Regions from separate parts of the Homo sapiens genome. Here region 2 is linked to region 1. Evidence: promoter capture Hi-C in 16 types of primary human blood cells and fetal thymus (Javierre and others, 2016). All regions are on one chromosome and are shown on one strand. Each heading gives the region's core, a stretch centred on a gene start or on the middle of the fragment in contact. The rest is flanking DNA. Distances are from core to core; before and after follow the strand shown.

Region 1 (7,542 bases), core at 3,221-5,720:
TTCAGGTGAGACTACAGGGGAACATTCACACTAGCCAAAATCACATTTGCTGTCTAGATCAAGACTTTCTTGGCATCTATGTACCCAAGAACATGAATTAGTTATTTGCATGTTGCCCTGTGACACTAGAAAAAGAACAGAGAGAACCAGATGGTCCTACGGGCACTTTATCCAAGTTATTGTGGAAAAACCTCACGAATGTCCTGCTTCTCAAGAGAGTAGATCCTTCTAGGGTCTGATTAAATGGGGCCCCAGGAAGGATCTCTGCCTGATAAATTCTTATTAACTACCTTATTCACTGATTCTAAGATATACAGTTTTTCACTTTTTTTTGACGGGGGAGGGGGGGTTGCCTACAGAGTCTCTGTCGCCCAGGCTGGAGTGCAGTGGTGCAATCTCAGCTCACTGCAACCTCTGCCTCCCAGGTTCAAGTGATTCTCCTGCTTCAGCATCCCAAGTAGCTGGGATAACAGGTGCATGCCACCACACCTGGATAATTTTTGTATTTTTAGTAGAGATGGGGTTTTGCTATGTTGGCCAGGCTGGTCTCAAACTCCTGGCCTCAGGTAATCTGCCCACCTGGGCCTCCCAAAGTGCTGGGATTACAGTGTGAGCCACTGTGCCTGGACAGTTTTTCACATTTCTAACATAAAATTTTGGTGTATCATTTTGGTATATCCTTGAAATTGTAGTGTATCATATAGCCCATGGTGTGTCAAGGTATAATCATAGTTGGCAAGTGTTTTTTTCTAAGTGGCACAGAAAATAAAGACACATCCTAAAGGATGCAATCTTAGACGGCATGAAATATGGTGACTGCCCTTGTATTACTCTCCAGACTTTGACTTGTCCTGAACCGCCTCACCCTAAATTCCAATATGTGGGTGACAGTTTTCCTAGGTTATGTTCTAGGCACTAGGATCCACTCTGGTCATTTGAACAGACTGGAGATCGCCCAAACTTCCCTCAGCAGTAAGTTTACAAATTCTCTCTCAGGTGGGCTCACTTCTGCAGACAGCTAAGCCCTACCATTTATTTATGTATTTATTTATTTATTTGAGATGGACTCTTGCTCTGTCATCTAGGCTACAATATGATGGCACGAACACAGCTCACTCTATCCTTGACTTCCCAAGCTCACGTGATCCCCCTGCTGCACCCTCTTGGGTAGCTGGGACTCTGGGTTCTTGGCTAATTTGAAAAAAAAATTTTTTTTTTTTTTTTGGCAGAGATGGGGTCTCCCTATGTTGCCCAGTCTAGTCTTGAACTCCTGAGCTCAAGCAATCCTCACCTTGGCTTCCCAAAGTGCTGGGATTACAGGCCCAACCCACCCCTGCCATTTTCTTCACGTTCACTACTATTTCTTTCTCTCTTTTTAATTTTTTGTAGAGACAGAGTCTCAATGTTGCCCAAGCTGGCCTCTAGCTTCTGGGCTCCGCCCACCTTGGCCTTCCAAAGTGCTGGGATTACAGGCGTGAGCCACACGCGGGCCTGCTCTCTTTTAAACAGTGATGATCTAAACTTAGCTCCAAATAGAGGAAATCCTTTACTCCAGTGCTCAAGGACATTTGGCGGCAAGGATCCAAATTCCACATCCACAGTTGCGCCTGCCCCAAACCCCCTACTGGGCTTGTCATCTTGGTTTTCAGCTTTAGTCGGCTGACAAATGCTTATTGATAGACTTTCACAGAGTGGATATGCTGTCTCACAGCAGCAAAATTTAAGACATTAAAATGATCTAGTCTCAGGAGTTTTGCCATAAAGGATTTAGTAGCATTATATTGCCCTGGCTAAGAGCCTTACTATGTCCTTCCAAAGACTTTATTTAAGAACTTTGGTTGTGGATGAAGCATGACATAAAACAAGTTTACATAACAGAGCCTCCACCACATAATCATATATTATAGCTGGTGATAAAAGAAAAATAAGCACTTCGCATGTGATGACGCTCTAGAAAGAATTTAAATTACAAACCTAAACTGAAACCTCTTGGCTCTTATTAGACTATAGAACTGATACTACCCAACTGGAATACATAAATTACTATGTTTAGAGTCAGCACTTGACTCTTAATCAAATTCTCATGCTAGTTAATCTGAGATGTTATCACTTTTAATAACTGGTAGGCGATATTTTTATATAAATACATATTCTATTTATACCTGTGGTATGTCAGAGAAGCACTTCAAATTTTAAAATTGTGCCTGAAGTCCTATTAACTGAACAAGTAAAAACAATGTTAACTTATGAAATGTTCAATTTTTTAAAATTGAAATCTTTATTTATTTATTTATTTTGAGACAGGGTCTCACTCTGTCGCCCAGGCTGGAGTGCAGTGGTGCAGTCTCGGCTCACTGCAACCTCTGCCTCCCGGGATCAGGTGATTCTCATGCCTCAGTCTCCCAAGTAGCTGGGATTACAGGCGTGCATTACCATGCACAGGTAATTTTTGTATTTTTAGTAGAGACAGGGTTTCACCATGTTAGCCAGGCTGGTCTTAAACTTCTGACCTCAAGTGATCTGCCTGCCTCCGCCTCCCAAAGTGTTGGGATTACAGGCATGAGCCACCGAATCCAGCCAAAACACTGACATCTTTAAACAATGTTTTCCCTAGTAGTGGTTTAGGAAGAAGGAATAGAGTCCTTCAAAGGCCTAGTTGGTATTTCTCTTGCAGTTGCCTCATGCATGTGCTGCGTGTTTTTCTGCTTTATAGATTACCCCAACTTTGAGAAACATTCATTATCCAGTTTTTACTTGTGAGAAAATAGAGGCTCTGAAATGTTAACTTACTTGCCCAAAATTCTAAATCGAGTAAGTTTCAAAGCCTGTATATATTTAATATTTACTGCAGAGTTCATGAGCTTTCCACTAAAGCCATCAATGAATTTAGCATGTGATAAAAGAGGCCTGGATTTAATATGACAAATGTTTTGACCACATCAACGCCAGTTACTACAGGTGAGAATCTGATCTGAAATAAACAATTTTATAAGCCGGAACACCTGTGAGATAAAATACAGGTAACTGACAAGAAGAGAAGTATTATGTAGTTAACGGTTTCAAAAACAATCATCATCATAGCGTGGTCTCTTAGACACTGAAATCTGAAACTCCTTGATATGCTATAGCAAGGTTTCAAACAAAGATGTTCTGTTCAATGCATGTTTTTGTGGGATGGCGTAACTATGCAGACTATATCAGTCAACAAATGCTGTACAGAGCTGACCAATGACTCATGAAATCTTCTGTGCGATCTCTCTCCTCAGTTTCAAACGATTCATTTATAATTGCACTAGGAAAATAGCCAACAGCTTGTCACATTCTTTACACTGTCTTGGCCCAGCTCTAAACAGATAGGTTTTGAAATTTTAACTTAAAATTTTAATCTTTATTTTAAAACATGTATATACATTGTGGTAAAATATCACTTAGGAAAAAGAAAAGTTATTGTAGATATATAAATTTCTTTCTTTTAAAATACCTTTTGATTATATAATAAAAATTCCCCAAATAAAGTCTGAAGTTAGAGTTTGTAATTAAAAACCTCCAAAGAGTAAAAGTAACTCTTTTTCTCTTCTCTCTTCATCTCCCCCCCAAAAAATAAGCCTTCACAGAAGATGATTTTGGCATTGGTTATGATGTTTTATTGGCATTTGGGGCTTTTAATCTTTGTCTTTAAACATAATAGTAGTGATAATGCTACAGTGCTTTTCTTTTCCTGTTTTGAGCTTCTAAATCCAGCTAAGTTATTTTCACTTACTGTTACAAGACAGAGAAGAGGCCGGGCTCTGTGGCTCACGCCTGTTATCTAGCACTTTGGGAGGCCGAGGGGGGCAGATTGCCTGAGCTCAGGAGTTAGACTAGCCTGCACAACGCGGTGAAACCCCGTCTCTACTAAAAATACAAAAAATTAGCCTGGCTTGGTGCTGTGTGCCTGTAGTCCCAGCTGCTCGGGAGGCTGAAGCAGGAGAATTGCTTGAACCCGGGAGGCGGAGGTTGCAGTGAGCCCAGATCGCGCCACTGCACCCCAGCCTGGGCGACAGAGCGAGACTCCGGCTCCAAAAAATAATAATAATAATAATAAGAGAGAGGAGAAAAAACTTATTTTTCTGTAGATAATATATTGAAATGCAGATGTAGTATAGACAGTTCTAAACCAGACAATGACATTTTAAAAATAAATTTAGCCAGTCGTTTACAGAAAAACAATGACATACTGATATTAGAATAGGTGTCTCCTATTAGTTGACAATGAGTGATACATAATTTAAAACTAAGGATGACAACAGTTTCACTATTAACTCTTATTATTGTAGAAACCTGGTAAAATTGAATTCCACACTAGATGGTATAGTTTAAGACTTAACGCCTCACATTCTGACCTCATTAAATAGAAATCTGTTTAATCTCTGCAAGGAAATATTTTGTCCAGGAACGCCTACGTTTGTGGCAGGTGGAGACAGCTTATTAGGCAGCCTGCTCTCCTCTTATGATGGCCTTGGTCCGGGATCGCAGGGCTCATTATGTCATGAGCATAGTTATTAGATGGGTTCACTGCTTTTCCTCCTCCTTGAGGGGGACCTTTGGCACACGCTGGGAGGCCATGAAAGCCAAGGCCACCGAGCTGCGGGTCTGCTGCGCGCGTAGGAAGCGAGAAGCTCGGGAATTCAAGCCCCCGCAAATGCGCGGGTCCACGAGGTAGGCTGAGCTCCGCGCCTGGGTAGAGGAGGAAGCGAGCAGGGTCCAGGGGCACGGCGGGAGGCTGAAGGGTTATTTACGGGGGTGCAGCTTTCCTCTGGGGTATCGCAGCAGCCTCCAGGCTGTGGGAGTCTTGTGGGGAAGCCTTGAGGCAGGCGGGACAGTGAAAGCGCAGCGGGGTGGCTTGGGAGCCCGCCCCGCCTCCTCCTCCCCCTCTCCACTCCCCTCCTCCCGCGCGTGCTCCCTCCCCATCCTCCTTTCCATCTCTTCCCCCTTCCCCCACTCCTTCCCCCTCTTCCTTCCCTCCACACCTCCTCTACTTCCTTTCCCTCTCCCCTTCCCCCCCATCCCCAACCTTCTCCCTATCCCCCTCCTCCCCATCTCCTTCCCCCTTCCCCTCCCCACCCCGTTCCCCACCCCCCTCCACTCGCGGCCCTCCCCGGCCCCCGCCCACGGATTCCCGCGCTTCGCCGGTTACCTGGGAGTCGCCATGGCAACGGACGCCGGGTTCCCGACTCCGACTCAGGAGAGCGAGCGGCTCCGCGGGAGGCGCACGTCCGGGGCTGCAATGGCGAACTGGGGCGACTCGCCTGAGACAGAGGAGGGCCGGAAGATCATGGAGGGCCTCGAGGCCTCTATTGAACAATTCCAGTTCAACCCCAGGTGACCAGCGGGAGAGGCAGTCCCCGCCGGCCCGCCCCGGAGCCCTCGCGCCCCGGCCCTCGCTCAACGCCTTTCCAGGCCCCTTGCTCCAGCCGCTGGGCTTCAGTTTTTTGTTTGTTTTTCGAGGGGATCACTGTCCGAAAAGAGCTGCAGTTTTCACTTCTTCAAGTGTATAGCTGGACACTAAGAGCACGGACTCTGGAGCCAGACTGCCCGGATTCCAGAATCTTGGCGACCCTCTCACAGGGGCCGTGAGTTAGGCGACTGACTGCTCTGTGCCTCAGTTTTCTCAGCGGGAAATAATCGTTCATGAATGATGAAGAGTAGTGCCTGCTTCATAGATCATAGTGAATATTAAATGAGCTAATCTAGGACACAGTACCCGTCTTAGTCCCCTCGGGCTGCTGTAACAAAACAACATAGGCTGGGTGGCTTATAAGCAACAGGAATTTGTTTCTCCCAGTTCTGGAGGCTGGGAAGCCCACTGGCAGATTCCAGGTCTGATGAGGGTCCCTTCTGCACAGACAGTACCTCCTGGCTGTGTCTCCACATGGTGCAACGGGCAAGGGAGTTTTCCCCCACGTCCCCCACACCCGCTCCCACCCTGCTTTTAGAAGGGCACTAATCCCATTTATAGGGCTCCACTTTCATGACCTAGTCACCTCCAAAGTCCACACCTGCTAATATCGTCATCTTGGGGGTTAGGATTTCAACATGAATTTTCAGGAGACACACTCAGACCATAGCAGAATCATAGAAGTGTTTGCCGATGTCATTATTTGCTATTCCTTGATCCTTGTTTAAAACCCGTCCCTTTCATAATCCTTTGCCCCCTGTGTTCTAGCTTTGTTGTTTATTTGGATAATGTAGAGCTGATGTTTCTGGGAAAATGCAAATTTCTTTCTAAAAACCTTTTCAAATCAGTAGGTAGCCAGAATTAGCTTAGCTGCTATGGGAGAACTTACCGTTGTATAAGGCAGGGGCCTCATGGTGCCAGGTGGGCTGGCTTAGGGGCAAGCCCCTCACACAGACACAGCTCCAGGGTGAGAAGAAGGGACCACAGGTGTCCTAGCCCAGCAGTGGGACTGACCCAGTGAGGCAATGCTCCTGGGCTGGGCTTCCCCAGCTTCACTGTATTCAATGGGTACGTTTGTTAAAATGGGTCAGGGTGCACGGGACCTGGTCTAGTGGTGGTTGTGAATAGCATTTATTAGAGGCAGCACGTGATAAACACCAGAGGCACACAGCGTCTACCCTGTTCTAGTGTTTGCTGATAGGAATGGTGTCCTGCCCTGGACTCCTTGGCATTCCATGGTGGGGTAGCTCCCAAAAAAAAATGCACTTGCCAGGCTCAAGAGCAGACCGATGGTGCCGGGTGCTCTTTGGCTGAACAAAAGAACCACTGATGCCCATATTCCTTCCTCTTCACCCAAAGTACTAGGGCGACTGAGCTGGTGCCTGGGTGTGAATGAGAGAGGCTCAGGTGCTGAACGTGGTCCACAAAGCAGACGAAAGCCCGGCCTTTGTGGAGTTTGCATCCTAGTCAGGAATTGATGATGAACTAGATAAACAAGTAAACTATGTAATAAGTTAGATAGTGGTTAGTGATAAGGAAGAAACCGAACATGGGGAGGGAGAAGAGGAAAGTGAGTAAGTGTGTGAGAGTGTGTGTGTGTGTGTGTGTGTGGCAAGTGGGGAGGGAGCTGTGATTTAATTTTTGTTTTGTTTTGTTTTGTTTTTTAGAGTCAGGGTCTCACTCTGTCACCCAGGCTGGAGTGTAGTGGCACAATCATGGCTCAGTGCAGCCTTGAACTCCTGGAGTCAAGCGATCCCTCCACCTCAGCCTCCTGAGTAGCTGAGACGACAAGCACACCCCAGCCTGCCTGGCTAATTTATTTTTAATACAGGGTCTTGCTGTGTTGCCCAGGCTGGTCTCAAACTCCTGGGCTCAAGCAGTCCTCCAGCCTCGGCCTCCCAAAGTACTGGGATTACAGGCATGAGCCACCATACCCGGCCTGGACTGCAGATTTTAGAAATGGTGATCAGGGAAGGCTTCACTGAGAAAATGACACTGGGGTGAAGACTTGCAGGCTTGAGGGGGGAGCCCTAAGGATCTATCAGGCTAGCAAGTGTTCCAGGCAGAGAGAACACTGGGTAGAAAGATGGTGCCTGGATGTCCTA
Region 2 (7,542 bases), core at 3,099-5,598, 860 kb before region 1:
AGACTCCTCCCTCCCCCAACACACTTACACACACACACACACACACACACACACCCAGCCCTTAATCACAAATCTGAAAGGTAAACTAGTAAAGTCAATCTTCTGAAGCTCTCCCAGTTAACGACTCCAAAAATCTGAAAGACAGTGAAAATGCATTTCTTTGGACAGGCAGAGTTACAACCAACATACTTCTCCTTTTAAACCACCTACAAATATTTATTTTGTTCTTTACCCAGTCCTTGAAAAACTGGCAGAGTTCCCAGAGAGTGAAAATAGGAGGCATGATGTCCGAAAAAAAAAAAAAAAAGAGGATGGGAAAATAATTTAGGCAACATTAGCTCTGCGATGTCAGATATCTCAGAGTAACACAGTAGCTAGGAGGAAGAGCGCGATTTTGTAACCTGTAGTAGCCCCGTCACAGGAGGGGTAAAAAAGGACAATGGTTAGTCTGGTGACCATACTTTGCCCCAGTTTACAGGGCATTCCAGCAAGGTTTGAGATTGATTTAGATCAAGAATGTGTGCTGAACAATGGCCAGCCTATGTTCCAGATTGTGACCTCGAGTGACCTGTGTGTTTTGGCAGTGGGGGTGACGTATTTTGGCCATTTAAGACATAAGGATGTGGAAGCACCTAACAGACAAAGGATGTAGGCCAAAAGGAAAGGAGACATACCAGGAAGTGAGTTACACTCACGTCAGGAGGGGAAGAAGAGAGCCCCTCAATTCTTAACGGGATTTTTCTTGAAATCCAAGAAGACGCGGTGAATCTTTCAAAAAATTAAAGCAGTGCCTCGGCAGCCTGAATAGAGGCAGTGGGATTTGCAGGGCAGATAACTTAAGGTCTCTATGACTTTGCAACAGAATTACCTGGCAATCTTGCTTTAAGGAGGAACTAATCTTACACAGTTTCTGTCCTGGTGGCCCCTGGGCAAAGGCCAGATGAATCTAGTTTTAACCTTATTATTTCCTTAGGTGCAAAATGTTCATGAAGGAGGGCCCTGCTGTGTTCAGCCTTTCAGGTCCAGATCATCCTGATTCTTGTATACTGTTGTGTATTTGTCTTTAAAGTATTAATGCTAGGAAGAGTGGGGAGGAGGGTGGGAGAAAAGTATGTGTGTGTGTGTGTGTGTGTGTGTGTGTGTGTGAGAGAGAGAGAGAGAAACACTGTAGCAGGAGATGCAGCAGCCCAAATCAGATGTCCCGCAGCCTTTGGTTGTGACCCCAATCCCCTTGCTCTGGTGTCCAGAGAGCCCGTGCTTAACAGCTCCTACCTGTCATTTGGTGTAGCACAAAGGCAAAAACCCCAGGATGAAGGAGGCAGCAGAGGGCTGCCACAGCCGTTGGCAGCCACAAACAGCACCCTGCCCCAGGGCCCTCCTGGCTAGCTCAACCCAGGCAGAAAAGATCCATTGGCAGATGCTGATTAAGATTTCCTGGGGGCTGTTTGGAAGGTGTCAGAGCAGTCTTTCAGGCCTCTGTTGACCCCTAGATGGACAAAAATAGGGAAATGTCTCCCACCAGGTCTGAACTACCATTTTCCAGGCAGCCCAAGGAACCCCCTTGGTCAGCCGACCTTGCTTTCCAGCTGCTAGGACCCTCCCCTCCCCCATACGGGCCAAGCCCACTGCCCTCTCTGCTGATATTCCAGGAAACAAAACTCTGTGATATGCACAACAGAAAAAGGCATTGGGGGAAGAGAATTAACATGAATCATTAAGGATCATGAAACCTAGACATGTATTTATGGTAAAATAATGTTCTTTTGAATGATCAAACTTTCTGACCATTCTATAGGGAAAAGCTTCTATTGGATTACTTACTGGCCTTTTGTTCCTCCTTAAGAAGAGGAACTGAAAACAATTTGAGAAGGCACTCTATTTGCCCTTGCACCGACTATTCCATATCTTTCTCCAAAGCACAGAGACCTTCCTAACAATTTAGCACTGATTGTCAGTGTCTCTGGAAAACAGTAGCTGTATTCTGCAATCTATATAAACCTGGTAACTCCGATCTTCATGAAAATACTCTTATTGTCACTGCTGTTACTGTGGAGATGTTCTTCTTTCTGGAAGAAACACTATTTGAACTAGAAGTAGGTGTATTTCTTTCTGGTTTAATTTAATTTCTGGGCTTAAAAATTGCTATTACATTGCAATCTGCCTACTGCTATACTTTGAAATTTGCTGTGAAAGGCATAAGGAAAGCGGGAAGAACTTGAAATCTGATTTTCCTCCAGTCATATAAAGAACTAGAATAATAATAATACCAGGAGGCTAAGTTTTCAACTCCGTTTCTGTTAACAGGGAAAGGTGCAAGACTATTTCTTGGTTAGTGGTTCCATATGTTGCAATTCATGACTCAAAATGAGCTACCACATAAAACAAATGTCATTTAAAAGGAAAGACAAGTGACGAGATAAAAGAGTGCTGTAAAGACAAATGGTGATTTTGCAGTCATAGCTAACCCGTTACAGAACTGGACCATTATTGGTGTTGATAACGCAACGTAAATGGCATTCACCATAAAGAGAATTAATCACAAAAATCGTAAACAATTGCATATGATTTCTCAGCAGGCCAATTATAGGGTTGTGGAAAGCATGTCAACTTCCTTCATGTAAATTTTTCCTTTTTTCCTTCTTTCCTTTTTTTTTTTGAGACAGCATCTTGCTCTGTCACCCAGGCTGGAGTGCAGTGGCATGATCTCGGCTCACTGCAACCTCCACCTTCTGGGTTCAGGTGATTCTCCTGCCTCAGCCTCCCAAGTAGCTGGGACTACAGGCACATGCCACCACGCCCAGCTAACTTTTTGTATTTTTAGTAGAGATGGGGTTTCACCGTGTTAGTCAGAATGGTCTCGATCTCCTGACTTTGTGATCTGCCTGCCTCGGGCTCCCAAAGTGCTGGGACTACAAGCATGAGCCACCGCGCCCGGCATTTTTTCCTTTTTTTTGAGACGGAGTTTTGCTCTTGTCGCCCAGGCTGGAGTGCAATGGCGCGATCTCGGCTCACTGCAACCTCTGCCTCGAGGGTTCAAGCAATTGTCCCGCTTCAGCATCCTGAGTAGCTGGGATTACAGGCATGTGCCACCACGCCTGGCTTTTTTTTTTTTTTTTTTTTTTTTTTGTATTTTTAGTAGAGACGGGGTTTCACCACATTGGCCAGGCTGGTCTCGAACTCCTGACCGCAGGTAATTCGCCCACCTTGGCTTCCCAAAGTAATCACGCTGGGATTACAGGCGTGAGCCACTGTGCCTGGCCTATGTAAGTTTTTCAACAGAGAAATCATTGCAAGAACCAAGAGTAAGTGGAATTGCCCTGATACATATTTAATATTTTTTCACTTTAAATCCTATTAAGAACCAGATAGTTGAAAATGACTTGACATCAGGACACAAAAGAAATAATTAATGCTTGCTGAAGTCCTTAAAATGTACTTTTCAAAGGCATTCATAACTGTGAGAGTCAATTAAAACAAAGTGAAAAACAAAGAAGTCAACAAAAGTGTTTCAACCAGAGGCCTCGTGTTTGATGTGTTCCACATTAACTGTTTCTAAAAGACAGGCTGCTATGGTATGAGGCCCTGTAAGTCAGAAATAAAGGATTTTTAACAACTGGGATAACATTTGCTTAAATGGATGATCTGGCGCATGTGAAATGTGGGCTCTCCAATCCTAGTTTTGACAGCAATGTGTCAGGTGGTTAGGGTGACCTTATACTTAGTATAAACCAGCATTTGTGAGAGGGAAAGTAGACACTATTAATAATTACAACTGGACAATAAGACACCACGACTGTCCCTGGCAAACCAGCACAGATGGCCACCTATGTGTGATCCCAAGATAAGCCCTCTGGGCGCCTTAGGTTTCCAAATGTGAGGGGAACATAATGATACTGTTTGAGTTTCCCAACAAAGACCCTATAAAAGAATCTGAAACAATAATTAAAAAATAATTAATCTTAAACAATAATTAGAGCAAAGGTGTGAGCCTCACACGGACCGTATTACAAGCCCCACTAACAAACAATTTCGCAGATTCCATAGTATAATACATTTCTATATGACTCATAGATCAAAACAGAATTTTCCCTTCTGCGTTAAGAGCAACAATTTCACCAGGTAACCTCCAGCATTCTCTCCAGAGGGTAACCAATCTTCCCTTACTTAAAGTCCTTAAAATTCCAGTGGCTCCAAGGAGATCCTGCCAGACAATAAGTGAGGTGCCCAGGAGCCCCTCGCCACCCACCAACACTCAAATCTCCCTATGAAATGTCTTGGAACTCTCCTGCTACTCCACACAAATTCCTCATGTGGTCATATGATGTGAAACTACACATAGATCCAATGTGTTAATACTTTAAGCATATTTGCTTTCTTTTTAAGAGAACCCATTGATGTTGGTTTTTATTATGGTTTCTTTTATCTATTTTAAGTTGGAAGATAGATGCTGGGCAGCAAAGACCCCGTGTGCACAGCACTGTGGCCAGAGCTGGCATCTGTGCAGCATACCGTCTTGAAAGCCCCGCTCAGCTCTGCCCTCTGGTCACTGCAGACAAAGTCTGGATTCCAGGTGGCAACTTATAAGTGAAAAGTGTAACATGTATCTGCTCACCCCTTTTATCCCAGAGGGAGCAAAACCATGGCATATTTCCCAGAGTTCCTGAAGGGCCAGGGTGGAATCCACGAGAATATGAGAGCTTCTACAGATACAAGCACCTGGGTTGCTACCTTGCTTTACCCACAGTGCCTCATTATCAACCCTTTCAATAGAGTATTTGGGGGAAAGAGACTCTCCTGGCTTATTTTCTGCCCTTGAGCTTCTCCTCTGCCATTTCTCAAAGCTGCAGTGACCTGTGGAGGTGGGGGTTGGGGGGTAGGGGGAGCAAGAAGGAAGGGGAACCAATCAAGTTGCCAAAACTAGGATCATGGAGTACACTTCTCCCTGTTTCCCCCACCAACATCCCCCAACTTTGCTGCTGAACAAACTGACTCCTGGAGCATTCTCGAACGTGTGGCTCTCATCTCTCCCATCTTTCTCGTCTCCAGGGTCCTGTTCAGCCTTTGCTCTGTTATACTTGATGAATACCTTAGGATCTTTTATCCTCTTTTTTCACTACTGAAGTCCAAGGCAATTGTCCAAGGCGACCCCTCAATCATCAATATTATTTTTATTATTTTGCTAGATGGAAATGAAGAATAAAAGGGGAGGTATCTCTCTTCTTCTTCTTTCTTTTTTTTTTTTTTGACAAGTTTTTACTCCACCACCCAGGCTAGATTGCAGTGGTATGATCACAGCTCACTGCTTCAACTTCTTGGGCTCAATCAATCCTCTACCCTCAGCCTCCCAAGTAGCTGGGACTACAGGCACACTCCACCATGCCTGGCTAATTTTATATTTTTTTGTAGACATTAGGTCTCACTATGTTGCTCAGGCTGGTCTTGAACTCCTGGGCTCAAACAATCCTCCAGCCCTGGCCTCACAAAGTGTTGAGATTACTGTCATGAGCCACTGCCCCTGGCCCGGTATACCTATTTTCTAAAATTCCTCTTCTTTCAACTATAGAATTGGGTCTGGTATTATTTGGGGGGCATTGCTGTAAGAGCCCTAAGGCATCATGCAGTTCGGCCATAGATATTTATCAAAGTCTCCCTGCAGCTGGGCGCCTGCTCTAGTCACTGAGACCTCTAGTCTGTAAGCTAAGACTGTGATGCCAGGGACCTCCCTGGGGGGCAGGGCTTCCAGGAGGATGAGGCCAAAGATGGAAACCACCCTCAGAGCAGAGGAGACGTGGAGCTGCTAGGATAGGGGAAAGCGCCTGTGAGGGGAGCTTGGGAGCAAGGGTGCAACCAGAGCACAGCCTTTGGGCAACGGTGCTCATGAAGGCTTGGGGGCCGTGGTGCAGCCCAGGGTGGAGGGTGGAGGCTCCGAGAACAGGGCCCTGCAGGTCACCCTGATGCAGGAGAAGGAGAAGCCTGTGACTGGTGTCTTGGAGTCCTGGCAGGGATTGCCTGTGCCCAGGGAGTTTCCTGACCGCTCTCTCCCCTGAGCTTTGCTCTCCTCTCCCCCTACCTTTGGAATTCAGAGCTCCTCACCTTCCCTCCCAGGGCCAGCGAAACAAGTGAATTGCCCTGATCACTTTGATCACCTCTACTGGCTTCTCTGCCAAATAAACACTGAAATTGACTTTGTTTCAACAACGCAGCTAGTTTTATTTTGTTTTTGTTCCACTTTTTCATCAGTTCTCAGCCTCCGGTTGAGTGATGGCCATAGGCTTTAAGAGAAACAGAGACACAGATGTTACAGAATGAAAGGCGCAGTGCAAATACATTCACCTTTCCATGTCACCCCCGGGAGGCTGACAGTCCTGCAGCCACACCTGGAGCTGAGGGGGTCACCCAGCACCCGGGGCTGGGCCGCCTGCCTGCGTGCAGCCTGCACTCCCTCGGGGGTCTCAGAACACCAGGAAGAATTGGGAATGGGGTGCTGGATAGGAGGATCAGGGGTGATCAGGAGGTTGGGGGCGCTCGAGAGGGGTGTCCAGAGACTCAAAGGGCTCACTGTAGCCCCTGCTTTGCCCTGAGCCATGCCTCCAACTTCTTCAAGTGCCTCACCCTCGAGTTTATAGAATTCTTGAAAGCCAGTCACGTGCTTCAGAAGTTAAGTATTTTTACAGTGATTTTATTTTTCTCTCCCCACCTCAGTCCACAGAATTGAAGGTGGGGCGGAAGCAGAGGCGGGGTAGGGCAGGGTGGGGACTTCTGTTCCTTGCAGATGGAAAAACAGTTTTAATACAGAAGGACTAATTTCTGGAGCCAAGTGGGTAGAGGGGGTGCTGGCATGCAGGAGGTAGAGGAAGCCCTCCAGGATTTACAAAGTATTGATGGCTAAGCTTCTCTGCCCTAAGCCGAAGTGCATTTTGTGTTTCTCCCCAGGGCTGCTAGAGCTTAACATTCTTCATTTCCCAGATGACATCGTTTTGCTTTGTAAACACTCCCTTTTGCAAAATTTACAATCTCTGAACTGGACAATATTGAGTGGGATAAAATATTTAATGACTGGTTGGGCCAGGGTTTCCATAACACTATATTAGGAGCCTAATTTGTGTAACGCTTGAGTTCATAAAAGTAAAAAAGGTGCAACGAATTTTTTTGTTTTTTGAGATGGAGTTTTGCTCTGTCACCCAAGCTGGAGCACAGTCTTGGGAACTTGGCTCACTGCAACCTCCGCCTCCTGGGTTCAAGCAATTCTCCTGCCTCATCCTCCGTGGTAGCTGGGATTACAGGTGCGTGCCGCCACGTCTGGCTAATTTTTGTATTTTTGGTAGAGACAGGGTTTCACCATGTTGGCCAGACTGGTCTCGAACGCCTGACCTCAGGTGATCTACCCACCTCAGCCCCCTAAAGTGCCAGAATTACAGGTGTGAGCCATGGCACCCAGCTGCTGCAATGATTTTTAAAATTGTTTCTGCTTGCCCCCTACTGCCACCTCTCATCTGCACATACCTTCACCCAACATGTTCAGCAGCAGCACTGATACAAACT

What was found. The method cuts DNA at HindIII sites, captures the fragments that hold promoters and counts their contacts. A CHiCAGO score of 5 or more calls a contact.
Region 2: a fragment that was not itself captured here is called in contact with the fragment with the promoter of C10orf67 in region 1 in 1 of 17 cell types (neutrophils); the score reaches 7.0 in neutrophils.

What each region holds. Positions count from the first base shown.
Region 1 is chr10:23,341,725-23,349,266 of GRCh38, reverse strand. C10orf67 (chromosome 10 open reading frame 67) reads left to right here and starts at 4,470. Exons shown (of 16, transcript NM_001371909.1): 1 at 4,470-4,698. The coding sequence starts at 4,493. C10orf67-AS1 (C10orf67 antisense RNA 1) reads right to left here and starts at 5,310. Exons shown (of 2, transcript NR_155752.1): 1 at 5,177-5,310; 2 at 4,106-4,843. RefSeq lists a silencer at 3,053-3,347. The HindIII fragment of the contact is 9,174 bases long and covers 1-7,542 here.
Region 2 is chr10:24,200,887-24,208,428 of GRCh38, reverse strand. It overlaps a transcript of KIAA1217 not described here. Among named protein-coding and RNA genes, the nearest start is that of KIAA1217, 4.5 kb to the left of the region's middle. RefSeq lists an enhancer at 5,422-6,187. The HindIII fragment of the contact is 5,088 bases long and covers 1,805-6,892 here.